5 separate regions of the Homo sapiens genome follow, and regions 1, 2, 4 and 5 are each linked to region 3. The links are contacts of gene promoters, found by promoter capture Hi-C in blood cells and fetal thymus (Javierre and others, 2016). All regions are on one chromosome and are shown on one strand. The core of a region is centred on a gene start or on the middle of the fragment in contact, and the rest is flanking DNA. Distances in the headings are between cores, read along the strand shown. Region 1 overlaps XXYLT1 (xyloside xylosyltransferase 1). Region 2 overlaps XXYLT1 (xyloside xylosyltransferase 1). Region 3 holds the start of LSG1 (large 60S subunit nuclear export GTPase 1). Region 4 has its middle 34 kb from the start of PPP1R2. Region 5 overlaps XXYLT1 (xyloside xylosyltransferase 1).

The links. Contacts are between HindIII fragments. The CHiCAGO score rates a contact against its expected background, and 5 or more counts as called.
Region 1: a fragment that was not itself captured here is called in contact with the fragment with the promoter of LSG1 in region 3 in 3 of 17 cell types (endothelial precursors, erythroblasts and megakaryocytes); the score reaches 6.4 in endothelial precursors.
Region 2: a fragment that was not itself captured here is called in contact with the fragment with the promoter of LSG1 in region 3 in 4 of 17 cell types (M0 macrophages, megakaryocytes, M1 macrophages and 1 more); the score reaches 5.9 in M0 macrophages.
Region 4: a fragment that was not itself captured here is called in contact with the fragment with the promoter of LSG1 in region 3 in 3 of 17 cell types (total CD8 T cells, naive CD4 T cells and M0 macrophages); the score reaches 8.4 in total CD8 T cells.
Region 5: a fragment that was not itself captured here is called in contact with the fragment with the promoter of LSG1 in region 3 in 3 of 17 cell types (M0 macrophages, endothelial precursors and M1 macrophages); the score reaches 7.2 in M0 macrophages.

Annotation. Positions count from the first base shown.
Region 1 is chr3:195,183,040-195,186,840 of GRCh38, reverse strand. The region is part of intron 2 of XXYLT1 (xyloside xylosyltransferase 1); the gene reads left to right. Among named protein-coding and RNA genes, the nearest start is that of XXYLT1-AS2, 37 kb to the right of the region's middle. RefSeq lists an enhancer at 1,404-2,603. The HindIII fragment of the contact is 2,249 bases long and covers 347-2,595 here.
Region 2 is chr3:195,203,481-195,206,890 of GRCh38, reverse strand. All of the region lies in intron 2 of XXYLT1 (xyloside xylosyltransferase 1), which reads left to right. Among named protein-coding and RNA genes, the nearest start is that of XXYLT1-AS2, 57 kb to the right of the region's middle. RefSeq lists an enhancer at 1-193. The HindIII fragment of the contact is 5,212 bases long and covers 1-3,410 here.
Region 3 is chr3:194,670,364-194,674,076 of GRCh38, reverse strand. It overlaps LSG1 (large 60S subunit nuclear export GTPase 1), which reads left to right and starts at 1,886. Exons shown (of 14, transcript NM_018385.3): 1 at 1,886-2,013. The coding sequence starts at 1,915. It overlaps LOC124909474, which reads left to right. Exons shown (of 3, transcript XM_047449428.1): 3 at 1-413. The HindIII fragment of the contact is 1,582 bases long and covers 312-1,893 here.
Region 4 is chr3:195,507,572-195,511,085 of GRCh38, reverse strand. No RefSeq gene overlaps it. Among named protein-coding and RNA genes, the nearest start is that of PPP1R2, 34 kb to the left of the region's middle. The HindIII fragment of the contact is 3,279 bases long and covers 501-3,514 here.
Region 5 is chr3:195,235,288-195,238,776 of GRCh38, reverse strand. The region is part of intron 1 of XXYLT1 (xyloside xylosyltransferase 1); the gene reads left to right. Among named protein-coding and RNA genes, the nearest start is that of XXYLT1, 34 kb to the left of the region's middle. The HindIII fragment of the contact is 3,969 bases long and covers 1-3,489 here.

The sequences.
Region 1 (3,801 bases), core at 222-2,721, 510 kb before region 3:
ACTTCACTCACTCAGCAAAGATTTATTCAGTTTCACCTGTGAGCCAGATCTTGCCTAGGTGCTAAGGACATGGGGGTTAGAAAAACAGATGGGGTCGGTCTCTGTCCTCATGGAATGTACAGTGAAGATAGACATTAAGCAGATAATGGGAACAGCTGCAATAAGGGCAACGAAGGGGAAGTCCAGGTGCTGCCCGAGTGGGGGATTCAGGGTGTGTGGGGGGGGATTGTTACTAAAGACTTCCTCCAGACAGTGACATTTAAGGTGAGACAAGTGGGTGGGACTTAGCCAGGCCAAGACACGGAGGAAGAAGAGTGAGGCCGAGAGCATATTGAGTGGAAAAGCTTTGTGGGTGGAAGGAGCTTGATGTGCCCCAGAAGCTGAAGCCTTAGCTGCCTGGAGCACACCCCGGTCAGGCTATTCAGGGCCTTGAAAGCTGTGCGAGGGATTGGGGACTTTATCCTGGGGACAGTGGGATTTGCAACCACTGGTGGCATTTTAACCAATGGAGTAATATGGTTTGCATTTTCATCCAGTGACTTAAGTACTTTTGCATGCGTTCTTCTGTGGGATGGACCTGAAAGAATGGTCTGGACTTGAGGATCCCTGGAGAGCACAGTGAAGCTCAACGAAGAGTTCCAGTTGTTGGGTTGTGGTGAGGGAACCAGCAATGGAAGGTTTTGAAGAGGGGAATGACATGTCTGGGAGCAGCTCTGTGGTGGCTTTCAAAAGTTCTGGGGAAACTTGATCATGTAGCAGAAGGCAGCTGAGGAGGCGGTCCAGGCACTTAGGAGCACAGTGGCCTGGACTTCTTAGGTGAGAGGGGAGGTTGAGAGCTCGTGGTAGGTGTTGCAGGGACCCTAGAGCCAGAAAGCTGTGGACTGGTCTTCAGAGCTTGAGGGCCAAGGGAGCAGGAAGCCTTCACAGGAAAAGAAAGGTCTGAGTGAAAGTGACTGAAGAGAGGTGGGAAAGGGAAGGGAGAGGCCTCTGGTCTTGTTGTGCAAGGAGAGGGAGTGTCCAGGTATGTAGATGGGGTGTGAGCCTCTTTTAGAGAAGTAAGGGTTGGGCTCACTTGCAAGCACTCAGGAAGGACCGGAAGGAAGAAAGTGAAGATGCCGTCCCCATTGTGTCCCTCAGCGCCCAGAGGGTGTGTCGACCTGCTCCTCAGGCCAGGCCAGCCCAACACCTGTGACTAACATGACCTCAGAGTCTAAAATAATGTGTGCCACAGCTCTGAAGTCAGAAGGCTGATTTTTATAAATCAGCACAAATTGACCTTATTACCCATGGTCCTTCAGTGACCTCAGAAATCAAAGTGAAAAAAAAAAAAAAAAAAACCCAGCCCTAAACCTCTCTGGACCAAAGTTTTGCTCCTGAAGCAGGACCCCAAAATACTAGTGGCCTATTTTCTGCTGAAGTCTCTCTGTCCTCATGGTTCTGGAGAATGTCCTTTCAGTATCTTTATTCCTCCCCCATTTCACTGCAGATGTGCTCCAAGTTTCATGTTCCAGCAATCAGATGACCACGATGGAATATTCCCTGAGCTGGTGTTTCCAGTCTTTAGTCTAAGTTCTAAGACACTGAGCATTCCAAAACCCCTACTGTTCTGTTTCCCAGAACAGACCTTTCTTCCCTATTCTCCAGCACCCTCTGTTCCTTCCCCTTTCCTTTCCTTTTCTTTTTCTTTTTTCCTTCCTTCCTTCCTTCCTTCCTTCCTTCCTTCCTTCCTTCCTTCCTTCCTTCCTTCCTTCCTTCTTCCTTCTTTCCTTCCTTTTTTCTTTAATGGGAGTGAGGTCATTTGTGGAGCTGTCACTGCTCTGCAAGAGGGCAGGCATGAGGGGTGCCAGGCCCTCCTGACTTCTACCTTCTGATTTGTATGGTTTGTAAAATGAGCTGTATAAATGCCCAACATTTGATCAAACGAAACTGAAAGGATGATTGATGATGCGGGGATCAAACTTACCATTTGAATGTAGACCATTTTATTGGTAAAGATGAATGAGAATGATTTGGCCTGAAAGGGAACTTCAGATTTTTTTCCTAATTGAAGTAGTCACTTCTTTCAGAATGCTAAGTTCCCTGGAATATTTTCCCAGCCTACTGTGTCTATGATAGACTCAAATATTGGAAGTTTTACCGGCTGTGTGTGGGGTGGGGAAGGAATTCTGTTGGTTCTCCGGTGAGTCCTGAAGAGACCTTGTTTCTGGGTAAGTAGACCTAATCAGGGAGACTTAAATGTTTCTTGGGGGGGTTCTTCCAAACCATTTTGAGGATTTTCTTAAACTTCCAGAATTAGGAGGCCATTTATTAAGATAGTCTGAGGTATGGTGTCAGCCAACAAGGTGAGTTGGGATTTTAATCATGGTTTCAGTTTAAAGGCAAAGGTTTAATCATGTTTTCGGTTTAAAGATCATGCCGTTCAGTTAGCCCTTTGTTATGATCTAAAGGTGTTTGACAGCTTGAAATCCAAAAGGAGGTCAACTGAGGTATGGAGAGCTCCACATATTGGGCTAAAAGCCAGTCACATTTAGCATTTTGGAAAGTTATGTGAAAAATTGATATCGTCTGTTGTAAAACTGAAGCAATTGCCAAGCTTGTCCATTGTTCTTTTGCACTGAATTAACTCACTCTTAATAAAAGGACCGACACAGGGCCTTACACGGGTGGTCTTTGTGCAGGGCCCACCTGTGTATCTTGCTCTGATGGTTGTCTTTGCTCATAGCTCAATGATGCTGATTAAATGAGTTTAAGTGTGCTGGACAGTGTTGCACAAACTAGGCCATTTGTGTGTCTTTTCTCTTTCTCTTCCTTTGTAGATTATAAATTCAGCCTGTATTCTAACAAAAGATTTTCATTCCAGAATTTAAGGCAGTGTTCTTCTCTCAAAATGATATGCCTCACAGATGGTCTAGGGCAGCCAAGTGGATCACATAGCCCTTCGATCCTGGGAAGTGTCAGGCCTTCCAGTTTTTTTCTGACCATTCAGCCTTCACACTGGTTCCCTTCTAGTCTTGGACTGTTGAGGGGTAGAGTCCTAGTTGGTCCCAAATTGCCCCTTTCCTGGGGACCAGGGTGGGTAACAGTTGGGTTCTGGGCTCCTTGGTAGTTTCACTCCCTTCCTGTTTGCAACCATAGCAGAGCTTTGGATCATTCTGGAGGGACTTGAGTCCCCTGGATTCCTGAAAATGACCTAACCTTTTTGGATTCCTAGAACCAGACCTTCTGGCACTGGCCACAACAGATGGAAGCCAATTTTTCAGAGACCCAAAGGACAGACCAATCGTAGCCTGAATCCCAAGAGTTCAGTGGGAGACACACTGTATTCGTCTGTTCTCACACCGCTACGAAGAAATACCCGAGACTGGGTAATTTATAAATGAAAGAGGTTTCGACTCACAGTTCCACATTGTTTAGGAAACTTACAATCATGGCAGAAGACAAAGGAGAGGCAGGCACCTTCTTCCCAGGGGTCAGGAGGGACTGAGGGCCAGTAGGGGAAATGCCAGATGCTTATCAAACCATCAGATCTCATGAGAACTGACTATTACTAGAACAGCGTGGGGGAAACTGCCCCCATGATCCAATCACTTCTTACCAGGTCCCTCTCACGATGCGTGGGGGTTATGAGGATTACAATTCAAGGTGAGATTTGGGTGGGGACACAGCCAAACCACATCACACACAGTGAGTGGAACAGGGTAATGAATTTAGAGCCCCAAACCTGAACCCCATTCTTGCTTTCTCATTATATGAGCTCATCAATTATTTGTCCTGCCCGAGCTTCCGTTTCTTGACTTATAA
Region 2 (3,410 bases), core at 494-2,993, 530 kb before region 3:
ATGGCCTGCCCCTTTTCATCTCGACTCCCACCCATCGCCTTCTCCCCCAGAAGCAAATACCAGATCTTATTTTATTTTTAAATATTTTGATAAGTCTCTCTAACAGAAAAGTACTTTTTTTTTTTGAGACGGAGTCTTGCTCTGTCACCCAGGCTGGAGTGCAATGGCCAAATCTTTCACTGCAACCTCTGCCTTCCAGGTTCAAGTGACTCTCCTGCCTCAGCCTCCTGAGTAGCTGGGATTACAGGCACGTGCCACCACGCCCGGCTAATTTTTGTATTTTTAGTAGAGATGGGGTTTCACCATGTTGCTTAGGCTGGTCCTGAACTCCTGACCTCAAGTGATCCTCCCACCGCGACCTCCCAAAGTGCTGGGATTGCAGGTGTGAGCCACCGCAACTGGCTGGAAAGTACTATTTGTATTAAATGCGCTATTTTTATTACATTTAGCAAAACTAACAATAAATAATCACCTTATTGCCATCTAGTATCCATGCAGGATTCACATTCTTGAATTGACTACATGTTTCATTTGGTTGACTCTTGAGTCTTTCCCATTCTCTCTTTCAAAATTAAACTTTAGGCCGTGCGTGGTGGCTCACGCCTGTAATCGTAGCACTTCGGGAGGCCGAGGCGGGTGGATCACGAGATCAGGAGATTGACACCATCCTGGCTAACACAGTGAAGCCCCGTCTCTACTAAAAATACAAAAAATTAGCTGGGCGTGGTGGTGGGGGCCTGTAGTCCCAGCTACTCGGAGAATGGTGTGAACCCGGGAGGCAGAGCTTGCAGTGAGCTGAGATCGTGCCACTGCACTCCAGGCTGGGTGACAGAGTGAGACTCCCTCTCAAAAAAAAAAAAAAAAAAAAATTAAACTTTAAATTTTAAGATAATTGTAGATTACCATGAGGTTGTAAGAAGCAATACAGAGATCCTTTACCCACTTTCCCCCAGTGGTAACATCTTGCAAAAACTATAGCAAATACAACAACCAGGATATTGTTTTTGTTGTTGTTGTCTGTTAGTTTTGAGACAGAGCCTTGCTGTGTTGCCCAGGCTGGAGTGCAGTGGCACGATCTCGGCTGACTGCAACCTTCACCTCCTGGGTTCAAGCGATTCTCCTGCCTCAGCCTCCCGAGTAGCTGATATTACAGTCGCCTGCCACCACATTTGGCTAATTTTTGTATTTTTAGTAGAGACAGGGTTTTATCATGTTACCCAGGCTGGTTTTGAACTCGTGACCTTGGGTAATTCACCCGCCTCGGCCTCCCACAGTGCTGGGATTCCAGGCATGAGCTACCGTGCCCGGCCAGGATAGTGACTTTGATACCATCAAGCTGAGAACGTTTATCCCCACAAAGATCCTTCGTGCTGCCTTTTACAGCCACACCCACCTCCTCTGACCCGTAGCAACCACTAATTTCCTCCTTCATTTCTGTATTTCAAGAATGTGTATCAATGGAATCCTAAAGTATGTAACCTTTTGAGATAGGCCTTTTTTCTCAACATAATCCTCAAGAGGTTCATTCCAGTTGTTGCGTGTCAGTAATTCACTTTTTAATTGCTGAGTCGTATTTCATCATGCGAATATACCAGTTTGCTTAACCATCCATTTAAGGACAGCTTGGTTGTCCCCAGTTTGCGGCTAGTATGCATAAAGCTGCATTTTGTTGTATGGACATAAATTTTTATTTCTCTGATATAAATGCCTGAAAGTACAGTAGCTGGGTCTTTTGGTAGTTACTTGTTTCATTTTATAAAAAATTGGCAGACTTTTCCAGAGTTTGGCGATTTGCCAGAGTTTGGCAGACTTTTCCAGAGTTTGGCAAAATCCCAACAGCAATGTTTGAGTGTTTCTCAAGTCCCTTCTAAACCAGAGGTCCTCTCTCCCTCCACCTCTATTTTCTGACTTCGCAACTGGGGAGGAAAATTTGTGCTCTGATGATCTTGCGTGATTGGGATTATCTTGCATGTGAAACTGCTTTATAAACTGTCCCCAGCTGGGTCTATTAGTGCTTCCTTTTTGTGGGTGTATCTGAAAACAGTGTCACAGAATCTTAGCGGAGGGCTGTAGACATTTATTCACTGTCTGCCCCTGCGTTTCCTAGCCTGGCTGGATTCTGCAGGGCTGCTGGGTCATGAGGGTTGCCACAGGTCAAGCGTGTTAATGAAGTTCGTCTTGGCTTCTGCAGCACATTGCGGGTTGTGGGTAGTGAGATACTTGAGTTGCCTGAGCAACCCATGAAGACCACAGTCCCTGCACAGACCAGGCTTCGGCACGGCCACTGTGGCTGCCAGGACTGGTCTTCTGGGCCACCTTGTCATTCATCCCTGACCTGGCTGGCTGGCTGGCCAGCAGTTCAGACTGGAACACGAAGATGCCACTGAGAGAGAGAGAGAGAGAGAGAGAGAGAGTGAGAGAGTGAGTGTGTGTGTGTGCGTGTGTGTGTCAGGGAGAGAGAAAGCGAGGACCTTTTAGCCACAGACCCATGCCAGCTTTGCTTAAGATGATGGTAGTTTTCTCTCTCTCTCTCTCTTTTTTTTTTTTTTGAGACAGAGTCTTGCTCTGTCGCCAGGCTGGAGTGCAGTGGTGCAATCTCAGCTCACTGCAACCTCTGCCTCCTGGGTTCAAGCGAGTTTTCTGCCTCAGCCTCCCAAGTAGCTGGGACTACAGGCGTCTGCCACCACGTCCGGCTAATCTTTGTATGTTTAGTAGAGATGGGGTTTCATCATCCTGGCCAGGCTGGTCTCGCACTCCTGACCTCATGATCCACCTGCCTCAGCCTCCCAAAATGCTGGGATTCCAGGCGTGAGCCACTGTGCCCGGCCAATGATAGTTTTCTCTAACACTATGTGTGGTGAATTCTAAGCTCTATTAGAAGCAAAAACCTGAGGCTTTTTAAAAGCACTTGCCTCGCCGCCTCCTTTAGGGCTGTGTCTGACATGACCGTCATTTCCTCAGTTGGTTATCAGCCTTTCTTCTCCCTTGCTGAGCTGTCAACTGATGCCCCCACCTTCGTCTCAGCCTCTGTTCCGGGGGCTGACTTGACTAATGTGTCCCCAAGTTGCTTGATGACCTCAGACAAGAAGCACAGCAGTGCCTGGCCTCACAGCCCCATCAGCATGGAGGATGACAGTCCCAGCACACTGCTCCAAGGGGCTGTGAGGAATAAATAATAGGCCAATGGCAAAAACACTGGGCGGAGGAATCCTGCTGGAGAGACACTGACACAGTGGAGAGAATGTGTCTGTCAGGCCATTTGCTCCTTACTTTAAAGGCCTGAGTGGTGGCTAGAGCTCTGTTCTTTGTGTTTTACAGAGGGAGATGTTAATGTTCGATTCACTTCTTTTGTGGGTTTTCTCTGGTGCCTGCATGTTCCTTCTCTGCACTGCTGTCAGTCCCAAGCCTGG
Region 3 (3,713 bases), core at 637-3,136:
CCTTTGCTCATCTGTGAGCACTGCCTTCTCAAAGCGTTGCCAACTGCTTCACAGCTTGCCAGCAGTCCCTTGGGCATTTCCCAAAACTCACTTCAATTCAGTAAGAGGGGTAAGGTGCAGCACACAGAAACCCTGGCAGGGAATTCAGAATGGGTGGGAGTCTGGACCCAGTTTCGCCTGATGCTAACTTGCTATGACTGACCTTTAGCCAGTCCACTTCTGTGTCTTCATTTGCACCAGGAAAGAGTGGACTACGCTTGCTACTCAAAGTGTGACCCAAGGACCAGTACTATGGGTATCACCTGGAAGCTTGTTAGAGCCACAGGCCTCACCCCAGAGCTTATGAATCAGAATCTGCATGTTAACAAGATTCCCAGGGGATTTATATGCACATTAAAGTGTGAAAAGCCCTAGGTTAAACAGATTCTTGATCCTATTTATTTCTTTTTGGCTGTTGTTTTAATTGACAACTAAAAATTGTTTATTACTTACGTTGTACCGCATAATGTTTTGATATATGTGTACATTGTGGAATGGCTAAATCAAGCTATGCTAGGTAATATATGCATTACCTCGATCCTATGATTTAAAAATACATGTTTGGCCAGGCGCAGTGGCTCATACCTGTAATCCTAGCACTTTGGGAGGCCGAGGCGGGCGATCACCTGAGGTCAGGAGTTCGAGACCAGCCTGGCCAAAATAGTCAAACCCTGTCTCTACTAAAAATACAAAAATTAGCTGGGTGCGGTGGCACGTGTCTGTAATTCCCGCTACTCGGGAGGCTAAGGCAGGAGAATCACTTGAACCCGGGAAGCAGAGGTTGCAGTGAGCCGAGATCATGCCTTTGCACTCCACCTGGGGGACAGCGAGACTCTGTCTCAAAAGATAAAAATAAATAAATAATACATGTTAACAACCCTCATTCCCCACTCTCCCCAGGGGTGTACAGGCTAGTGACAAGACTTGGGTTTATTCCTGACACTGCACGCACTCAATCTACGACTTGCTCAAGCTGCTTCCTCTCTCCAAGCATCAAAACAAAGAGATGGTTCTCTGGATCAATGAGAATGTAGTTCACCAGCCACTCTAAGCTGACTTTCTATTATTCCCATTATAGGGAAATCAAACATTCAAGTGAGGAACAAAAGCCCAGGCCTCTAGGAGTGGAGCTGGCTCACTGTTTTCACTTTCATTTTAATTATTTTTAAAAAGGGTAATGAAAATATAATTAGAACTGTTTAAACATTTTTTTTTTCTTTGAAATAAAGCGTAAGTCACTTCCTGTTGGCTTTTCCTACAACCTTGCCAAGCTCTGGAAATACTATTCAGCCTCTCATTCCAAATTCACATCCAGGCGAAGACTTTTCTCCCCAGTTCGCAGCTGGGGTCGGCTAGATAAACAAAAAGTTAGTTGCTGTGCTGGACCTCGGAGAGACCACACCTCGGGACGCCAGCAGAAAACCAGCGCTGGGAAACGCCCCCGTCCCAGCGCCACCGAAACACTCTTCCTCCGAGTCTCCGCGTCCTCCTGACGGAAGCAGCGGAAGGCGGAGCTAGTGCCGCGAATAGGAACCGCCATGTTTCCGACGTGCTCTAGTTTCTCGCCGGACGCTAAAGACCGACGCACAAATTAAGAATGGACCATTCTTTTAACTCAGTCATTTATCCAAACTCGAGACATTCGCCAGGAAATCTATCGAAAATTTCCCAGAACCATTTTTTCACTTATATTCTATAATACTGGTAAAATCGAGACGTAAAAGGAGAACTTGAGAACAAGTCATTCTGCTTTCCCCTCTCAAGTTTGAGCCTGAACTACTTGGGCTCGCTTATCGTCACTTCCGGGGATCGAACTGTGAATCCCGGAAACTGCACGCGCCGAGCCGGGAAGCTTCGTCCAGCGGTCGTGTTGCCATGGGCCGGAGGAGAGCCCCGGCCGGTGGGTCGCTGGGACGGGCCCTTATGCGCCATCAGACTCAGCGGAGCCGAAGCCATCGTCACACTGACTCCTGGGTAAGACAGACCATGTCATCTTTCTTATCTTTTCTGTCTAGCCTGAGTGCTGCAAAATTCGGGGTCAAAAGTCAGATAAGTTTTGCAGGAGGGACGCCTCAGCCGGGTTTTGAAGGATGAGTTGGAGTTTCTGCCAAGCTGAGTAGCAGGCCCTCCTCCTGGCAAGGCCCAGAACACAAAGGTAGGAGAAGCTTGAAAGAAGAGTTAGTGTGGTGATGAGGCGTGGAGTGAGAATCTGAAGAGTCTTCAATGCCAGGTCTTGAGTACGTTTGGGTTTTGCCCTAGAAGCCACTGAAGTGCTTGGAACTTCCAGAGCAGGAAAAAGACAAAACGTATTTTTGTATTGATTTGTTCAAAGAATGGATCCTCCAGAAGCGGTTGGTTACTGCCAGAAATATAAAATAATTCAGATCCTTGCCTCATCCTTGCGAAGCACCCCCTAGTGGTTTAGCTCAAAGATAAATCATTGATTTTTCAGGTGTGACAAGACCTAATATTTTACTAGGTTATAGAAGGATCTTTAAAAAAATGAATGAAGTGATTTGGCTTGTGTTCATCATTCTAGTCGTTATTTTCACCATTCATTCCCCCGGGAATGAATGAGAACATGTTGAGTGCTAAGATCGTGTGCTAAATTTAGTTAAATATGTCCCTGGAGCTAAGTAAGCGTGTGCCACTGTCACACCAGCTGACTTTCATCCATATAGTCTGCAGAGTAAACAGCATGGAGTGCTTATCAGTATTCATCAGGTCAGAGTTACTCTGGACATTAGATTACTGGTAATTTTTATTAGCTTTGAAGCAACTTGTTACTAATGAAGCCTTTTAGGAAACTGTGGGAAGATTGAACATGAATGGTAAAGAATTGGATCCTAATTCCTTATTTTTGCTGATTCTATGCCCACTTAAACTTTTGGCCCTTAATATTTATTTAGGAAATTCATTCATCATTCAGTTATTCATTTTTAGAGACAGGGTCACACTCTGTCACCCAGGCTAGAGTGCCAGTGGTGTGATCATAACTCACCAATTCACTACAGTCTCAAACTTCTGGGCACAAATAATCCCCCTGCCTCAGTCTCTTGAGTAGCTGGCATTACAGGTGCACACCATCAGGCCTGGTTGTTTGGTTTTGTTTGTTTGTTTTGGAGAGACAGGGTCTTGCTGTGTTGCCCAAGCTGATCACAAACTCCTGGCCTCAAGCAATCCTCCTGCCTTAGCCTCTTGAGGAGCTGGGGTTACAGGCACAAACCACCACGCCTGGCAATTTTTTTTTATTTGTATCTATACTAAGTATATAGCTTAGGGTGATGGTTATCAAACTCTGGGTTGTGTCTGGAAGTCAATTTAGTGGTCTGCAGCTAGCTGTTTTGTTTTGTTTTTATTTTTTCCCCAGCAAGATAGAGAAATATCAGAATGTTGCATGTAATAGGGTGTGGTTTCAGTATTCTTCTATTGCCATTTTACTGTACTGAACGGTACTTGAATGCTTGTATCATTATATGTACATACACCTTTGGGTCACTATGTAAAATGTATTTCTTATTGTGGGATTATATCAAATAAAGTTTTGACTAATTTTGACTAGCACAGTCAGACAATCTGGGTTCAAGTTCTACCTGTGCCATTTAGATTTTGACTATAGGCAAGTTATTTTATCTGCTGAAGCCTTAGTTTCATCATCAGTAAAATGGAAATAC
Region 4 (3,514 bases), core at 891-3,390, 840 kb before region 3:
TGCCCGGCCAATGCCCAGCTTTTTTTTTTTTTTTTTTTTTTTTTTGAGATGAAGCCTTGCTCTGTTGCCCAGGCTGGAGTGCAGTGGTGTGATCTTGGCTCACTGCAAGCTCCACCTCCCAGTTTCACGCCATTCTCCTGCCTCAGCCTCCTGAGTAGCTGGGACTACAGGCGCCTGCCACCACACCTGGCTAATTTTTTTTTTTTTTTTTTTTTTTTTGTATTTTTAGTAGAGACGGGGTTTCACTGTGTTAGCCAGGATGGTCTTGATCTCCTGACCTTGTGATCCGCCTGCCTTGGCCTCCCAAAGTGCTGGGATTACAGGCGTGAGCCACCGCACCCGGCCCTATGCCCAGCTTTTGAGAGTTAGTTTTTCATGGTAAATCACAAAGTATGTAATCCAATCTAGGACTCTTAAAAACAGTCCTGGGAGATGGGGTGGAATTGAACAGATTACTAAGTAAATTGAACCCAGAATAATATTCTCTATTACTCTAAGCTTCAAGCATTGTTCTGTAGACCTAGAGTCTGAAATTTTCTGGACTCAGTGAGGACACACTGATAAAGCTGAGAGGAAAAGATGTTTGTTTTTTAGAACATTATTAAACCTTTATTAAGCACCAAGTATGTGCTCAGGAATTTTGCTGGGGAATGAATGCACATTGAAAAGGTAAATAAAAAGTGGTTCTTAGAACAAAGATATATAATCACTGTGACAAAAAGCAAAATATATATAAAAGAGGTAGAACAGAAGAATCACGATGTCTATTGCTTACATGTCTTACATGTCTTATGTATATCATAAACATCATGTTCGAAACTGAGTTTTTTTCCTCCAAACTGTTCTTTTTTTTTTTTTCCTGAGACAGAATCTTGCTCTGTTGCCCAGCTGGAGTGCAGTGGCAGGATCTCGGCTCACTGCAACCTCTACCTCCCTGGTTCAAGGAATTCCCCTGCTTCAGCCTCCCAAGTAGCTGGAATTACAGTGCAAGCCACCACGCCTGGCTAATTTTTTTGTATTTTTTAGTAGGGACGGGGTTTCACCATGTTAGTCAGACTGGTCTCAAACTCCTGAGCTCAGGCAATCTGCCTGCCTCGGCCTCCCAGAGTGCTGAGATTACAGGTGTGAGCCACCACACCCGGCCCCTCCCAACTATTCTTAATAGCTCTATCCCCCACTCCAAACACTCTCCCAAAATCAATAACTGAGCACCACATTGTCTACCTTGATTCATTTCTTTCTCTCAAATACTCAAATCCAGTCCATACCTTCATCATGTATCTAAATCTCTCACCATCTTCAGTCTCTACTGTAGATACCTTAGTCAAGCCATCATACTTTTTAAAAAACTTTTTAAGAGGCAGAGTCTTGCTCGGTTGCCCGTGCTGGAGTATAGTGGCACATTTATAACTCACTGCATCCTAAAACTCATGGACTCAATTGATCCTCTCACCTCAGCCTCCCAAGTGGCTAGGACTATAGGGATGTGCCACTATGCCTAGCTAATTTTAAAACATTTTGTAGAGAGGGGGTTTTGCTAGGTTACCCAGGCTGGTCTTGAACTCCTAGCTTCAAGTGATCCTCCTGCGACAGCTTTCCAAAGTGCTGGGATTACAGGAATGAGCCACTGCACCCAGCTTTCCAGTCCTTTTTTTTTTTTTTTTTTGAGACGGAGTCTCGCTCTGTCCCCCAGGCTGGAGTGCAATGGTGTGATCTCAGCTCACTGCAACTTTGCCTCCCGGGTTCACGCCATTCTCCTACCTCAGCCTCCCGAGTAGCTGCGACTACAGGCGCCCGGCTAATTTTTTTTTTTTTTTGTATTTTTAGTAGAGACGGGGTTTCACCATGTTAGCCAGGATGGTCTCGATCTGACCTCATGATCCGCCCGCCTGAGCCTCCCAAGGTGCTGGGATTACAGGCGTGAGCCCCCACGCCCAGCCTCCAGTCCATTTTTTAAAAAGCAGTAAGTGTTGCTGTCCTACTTAAAGCCTTTCAGCAATTTCTCTACCATCCTTAAGAATGAGTCCAGGTGTCTTAGACTGACTGACAAAACTTTGTACTGGCTCCCACATACCTGTTCAAATTTTTTGTGCCACTCCTACTTAATTATTTCAGTCATTAGAAATTTTGTTTTGGTTTTTTATTCAGTTTGTACAGTTTACTAAGTTTCTCTTCTCTGTTAGGGCCTAGATACTAGCAAGCCCCTCTGCTGGAAATGCTCTTTACTAATTTTTCATGCAACTTTTCTGCTCATTCTTAGGTTCAAACGTAACTCCCCCAGAGGTGCTATTTCCTGCCTATTCCATGTAAAAAAGATGTCTTTCCTATGGTTCTCAGACTGTTTCCTCAACTTGTTGGTTTATTTGCTTGTTGCCTGGTTTCCTCACTAAATAAAAAGCTCCATGAAGACAGGAGCTCTTTCCCTTACTACAGTATTCTCAGAGCTTGGTATGGGCCAGCTCAATAGAACTCTCAACAAGTATGGCCAGAGTGAATAAAAGGATGATACCTGCTCATAATGTGATTCACCTTTTCCTTTCTATTAATGTTTCCTCATGTTTCATGTTTGAATATTAGAACCAGAAAGAAACCAAAAATCAGCTAATTTCCTTAGAAACCAGAAAGAAACCAGAAATAACTAATTTCCTTAATTTTTAGAGGCAAGCAAAGGGAAGTCAATATTACTCAACTGGTTCTTGGCAGAGGAGAGACTAGAATACAGTTACCCTGACTCTTCATTTTCACAATAAATCTCTCCTTGGACTGAACCACTGTGGCCCTGTCTCGCTTTGGTGGTTATCTTTTTTCCAGAGTGGAGAGTATTAAGAATTAACACATTCAGGATAATCTGAAAACAAGCTCTTACACTGAAGTAAAATTTCTCAAATCAGCTGAGGCCTTGTACCAAAACTCCAGCTTGTAAGCATTTTTGGAAATCTTGCTAGAGAGTGGTGCATTTTCCAATATTCAAAAACCAAACATAATCTTTACTCATTGACTCCAGCTTGTTCTTATGATGAACATTGATTATTGTTATATATATATATATATATATTTTTTTTTTTTTTTTTTTTTTTGAGACGGCGTCTCACTCTGTCGCCCAGGCTGGAGTGCAGTGGCGCGATCTCAGCTCACTGCAGCCTCCACCTCCTGGGCTCAAGCGATCCTCTCGCCTCAGCCCCCCAGTAACTGAGACTACAGGAATGTGCCATCATGCCCAGCTAATTTTTTTTTTTTTTTTTTTTGTATTTTTGGTGGGGATGGGGTTTCACCATGTTGCCCAGGCTGGTCTCAAACTCCTGAGCTCAAGCGATCTGCCCACCTCGGCCTCCGGCCTCCCAAAGTGCTGGGATTACAGGCACAAGTCACCATGCCTAACCCAGAACACTGATTATTATACTATCTGAAATACAGTCTTGTCCTCAAGAACCCATTGAAGGGATTCTTCCTGAGCTTTAACATGCTGGGCTTTTTCAACAGTAAGACATCTGAGGATCATTACCAGCTTAATGTG
Region 5 (3,489 bases), core at 509-3,008, 560 kb before region 3:
TGGCTTAGGAGTGAAAACTGATCTGTGGGGAGAAGGCATTTCGGGGACTGGGAGGAGGTTTGGTGCTAACACTTAGGAGTAAGCACAGTGTGGCAACCCCCGGGCTCAATGTGTGTTCCACATGGCCCTGACAGACACCACAGGAAGCATGTGGTGACAGTCCTGTATTACCCACGAAGAAACTGGGGCTCAGAGAGGTTTAGTTACTTGCCCAAAGTGCAGTTCACTTAGTTTAGCAAACCTGTATGGATGTATGGGTGGCCTGTCATGTGGCCAGTGGCTGGATACAGGGCACAGAGCAGTCACGGCCTCTGCCTACGAGGAGTGCCCCATGCAGCCGATAGAGAAACAGAGCCCTGAAAAGTGAGTCAGACAGGGTGAGTGGAGCCCCCATGCGATGCAGGGTGTTAGGAAGGGCCTGGTGAATTGTGGGAGGCTGTGGGAAGGCTGGAGGGGAGGATTGGAAAACTGGATAGGATCTTACCAGGCAGATGGGGGCTGGGAGAGGTAATTACAGACGGTGGGAAGAGCAAGTACAGGCATGCAAGGATGTAGGTCATCCAGGTGTGGCCAGTAGACGGGAGACTGCCTGGTTCAGTGCTGCCCAGTCACACGAGGCGGGGAGGTCGGGGGACGGGGCCAGAACCACTATTGCAGCGGCTTAGAGGCCTTGCTAGAGGATTCGGACTGTAACTAAGGGAGCGACGAGTCGTCGGAGGTCTTGAAGCCAGGGAGAGAGAAAAACGAATTTCTCTATTTGGAAAACAATTCTGGAGGTATAACAGAATGGGGCAGTGGGGAAGGTAGGAGGTAGGGAAACCTGTCAGAGAGGTCGCAGGGGCAGGGGTGAGAGGAAGCGGAGGGGTGTGGGAATGAGAAACATAATTTGAGATTTCTGTTGGAAAATAGCAGGAACTGGTCTGGATTCTGTGTCTGGAAAAAAGTATTAAAAACAAACAAACAACAAACAAACCAGTAGCCAGAAAAGGATAAAGGAAACGGTACCTTAGAAGAGAAGCATGAAGACATTTTTAAAAAGGCTTTTATAATGAGGCAGAAGATTTAAAGTGTTACATAAAACAAGTTTTAGGGAATGAGGAGGACCAATGTGGCATAAAAGGTTTTTATGGTTAGGCTGGAGGTGGAGCAAGGTGGCCAAACAGAAGCCTCCACCAACCATCCTCCTCACAAGAACACCAAATTTGACAACGATCTACACCAAAAAAGCACCTTCGTGGGCACTAAAAATCAGGTGAGCGATCACAGTACCTGGTTTTAACTTCATATTACCGAAAGAAGCACTGCAGAGGGTAGGAAAGACAGTCTTGATCACTGACTCCATCCCTGTGGCGGTGGCCACATGGTGCTCAGAGAGAACCTGTGTGACGGGGAAAGGAGAGTGCAGCAGTTGTGGGACTTTGCATTGGAACTCATTGCTGCCAGCAGTGGGTAGAACTCAGCCGATGCCCACGGAGGGAGCATTTAGACCAGCCTAGACAGAGGAGAATCACCCATCTCAGCAGTCAGAACTTGAGTTCCAGCAAGCCTTGTTACCATAGGTTAAAGTGTTCTGGGTTCTAAATAAACCAGGCCACAAGGACTGCAACACCCAGGTGAGTCCTAGTGCTGTGCTGGGCTCAGAGCCAGTGGACTTGGGGGTTACATGACCTAATGAGACACCAGCCAGGGTGGCTCAGGGAGCACTTGCATCCCCTATCCCCCAAACCCAGGCAGCGCAGCTCACAGCTCCAAAAGAGACCCCCTCCTTCTGTTAGAGGAGAGGAGAGTAAAGAGGACTTTGTCATGCAACTTGGGTACCAGCTCAGTCACGGTAGGATAAGGCACCAGGCAGAGTCATGAGGCCCCCATTCCATGCCCTAGATCTTAGATGACATTTCTAGACACCCTGGGCCAGAAGGGAGCCTACTGCCCTGAAGGGAAGGACCCAGTAATGGCAGGAATCATCACCTGCTGACGAAAGAGCCCCTGGACCCTGAATAATCAGCAGTGGTAACCAGGTAGTACATACCATGGGCCTTGGGTGAGACTCTGAGACCTGCTGGCTTCAGATGGGATCCAGCACATTCACAGCTGTGGTGGTTAACGAGGAGAGACTCCTTCTGCTTGAGTAAAGGAGAGGGAAGAATAAAGGGGACTGTGTCTCGCAGCTTAGATACCAGCTCAGACATAGGGGGAGCACCAACTGGGCCCTTGGGGTCCCCAGTTCCAGGCCTTGGCTCTGGGATAGCATTTCTGGACCTACCCCAGGCCAGAGGGGAGCTCACTGCCCTGAAGAGAGTCCCAGGACTGGCAGCATTCACCACAAGCTGACTAAAGAGTCCTTGGGCATTAAGTGAACATTGGTGGCGCTCTGGCAGCACTCCCCATGGGCCTGTGGTGGTACTGGACACAGGGAGAGAGTCCTCTGCCTGGAGAAAGAGGAGGGAAGAGTGGGAAGGACTTTATCTTGTGGTTTTGTTGCCAGCTTAACCGCAGTAGAATAGAGCACCAGGCAGATTTCTAGGGCTTCCGATTGCAGGCCCTGGCTCACAGATAGCATCTCTGGACCTGCCTGGGGCCCAAGAGAACTCACTGCCCTTAAGGGAAGGACACAAGCCTGGCAGTCTTTGCCACCTGCTAATTGTAGGGCCCTAGGGCCTTGATTGAACATAGAGAGTAGTCAGCTAGTGGTTATAGCAGGCCTCGGGCAAAACTCAGTGGTGTGCTGGCTTCAGATCTGACCAAGTGCAGTCCCAGTGGTGATAGTGACAGGGGTGTCACCCCTCCCCAATCTCCAGGCAGCCCAGCCAGGTGTATATCTCTATGTCTATGTCTATGTCTATGTCTATGTCTATGTCTATGTCTATGTCTATGTCTATGTCTATATATTTATAGATATATAGAGAGATTGCATTCATCTGGGAGATAGGGAAGAGAACAAGTAATTCGGAGAATTCTTCCAGATGTGATCTAAGACCATCAAGGTGGTGCATCTACAAATCTGCAAGAACCACGGCATTGCTGGGCTTGGTATGCCCCCTAATGCAGATACAGCTGCAGTGACCAAAAACTTAGATCACAACACCCACGTCCTTTGAATACCTGGAAAGCCTCCCCAAGAAGGATGAGTACAAACAAACCCAGACTGCAAAGACTACAATAAATACCTAACTCTTCAATGGCCAGACACCTACAAACATCCACTAGCATCAAGACCATCCAGGAAAATAGGACCTCACCAAGTGAACTAAATAAGGCACCAGGGGCCAGTCTTGGAGAAACAGAGATATGTGATCTTTCAAACAGAGAATTGAAAATAGCTGTTTTGAGGAAACTCAAAGAAATTCAAGATAGCACAGAGAAGGAATTCAGAATCCTATCAGATAAATTTAACAAACAAATTGAAATAATTAAAAACAGTCAAGCAGAAATTCTGGAGCTGAAAAATGCAATTGACTTACTGAAGAATGCATCAGAATCTCCTAATAG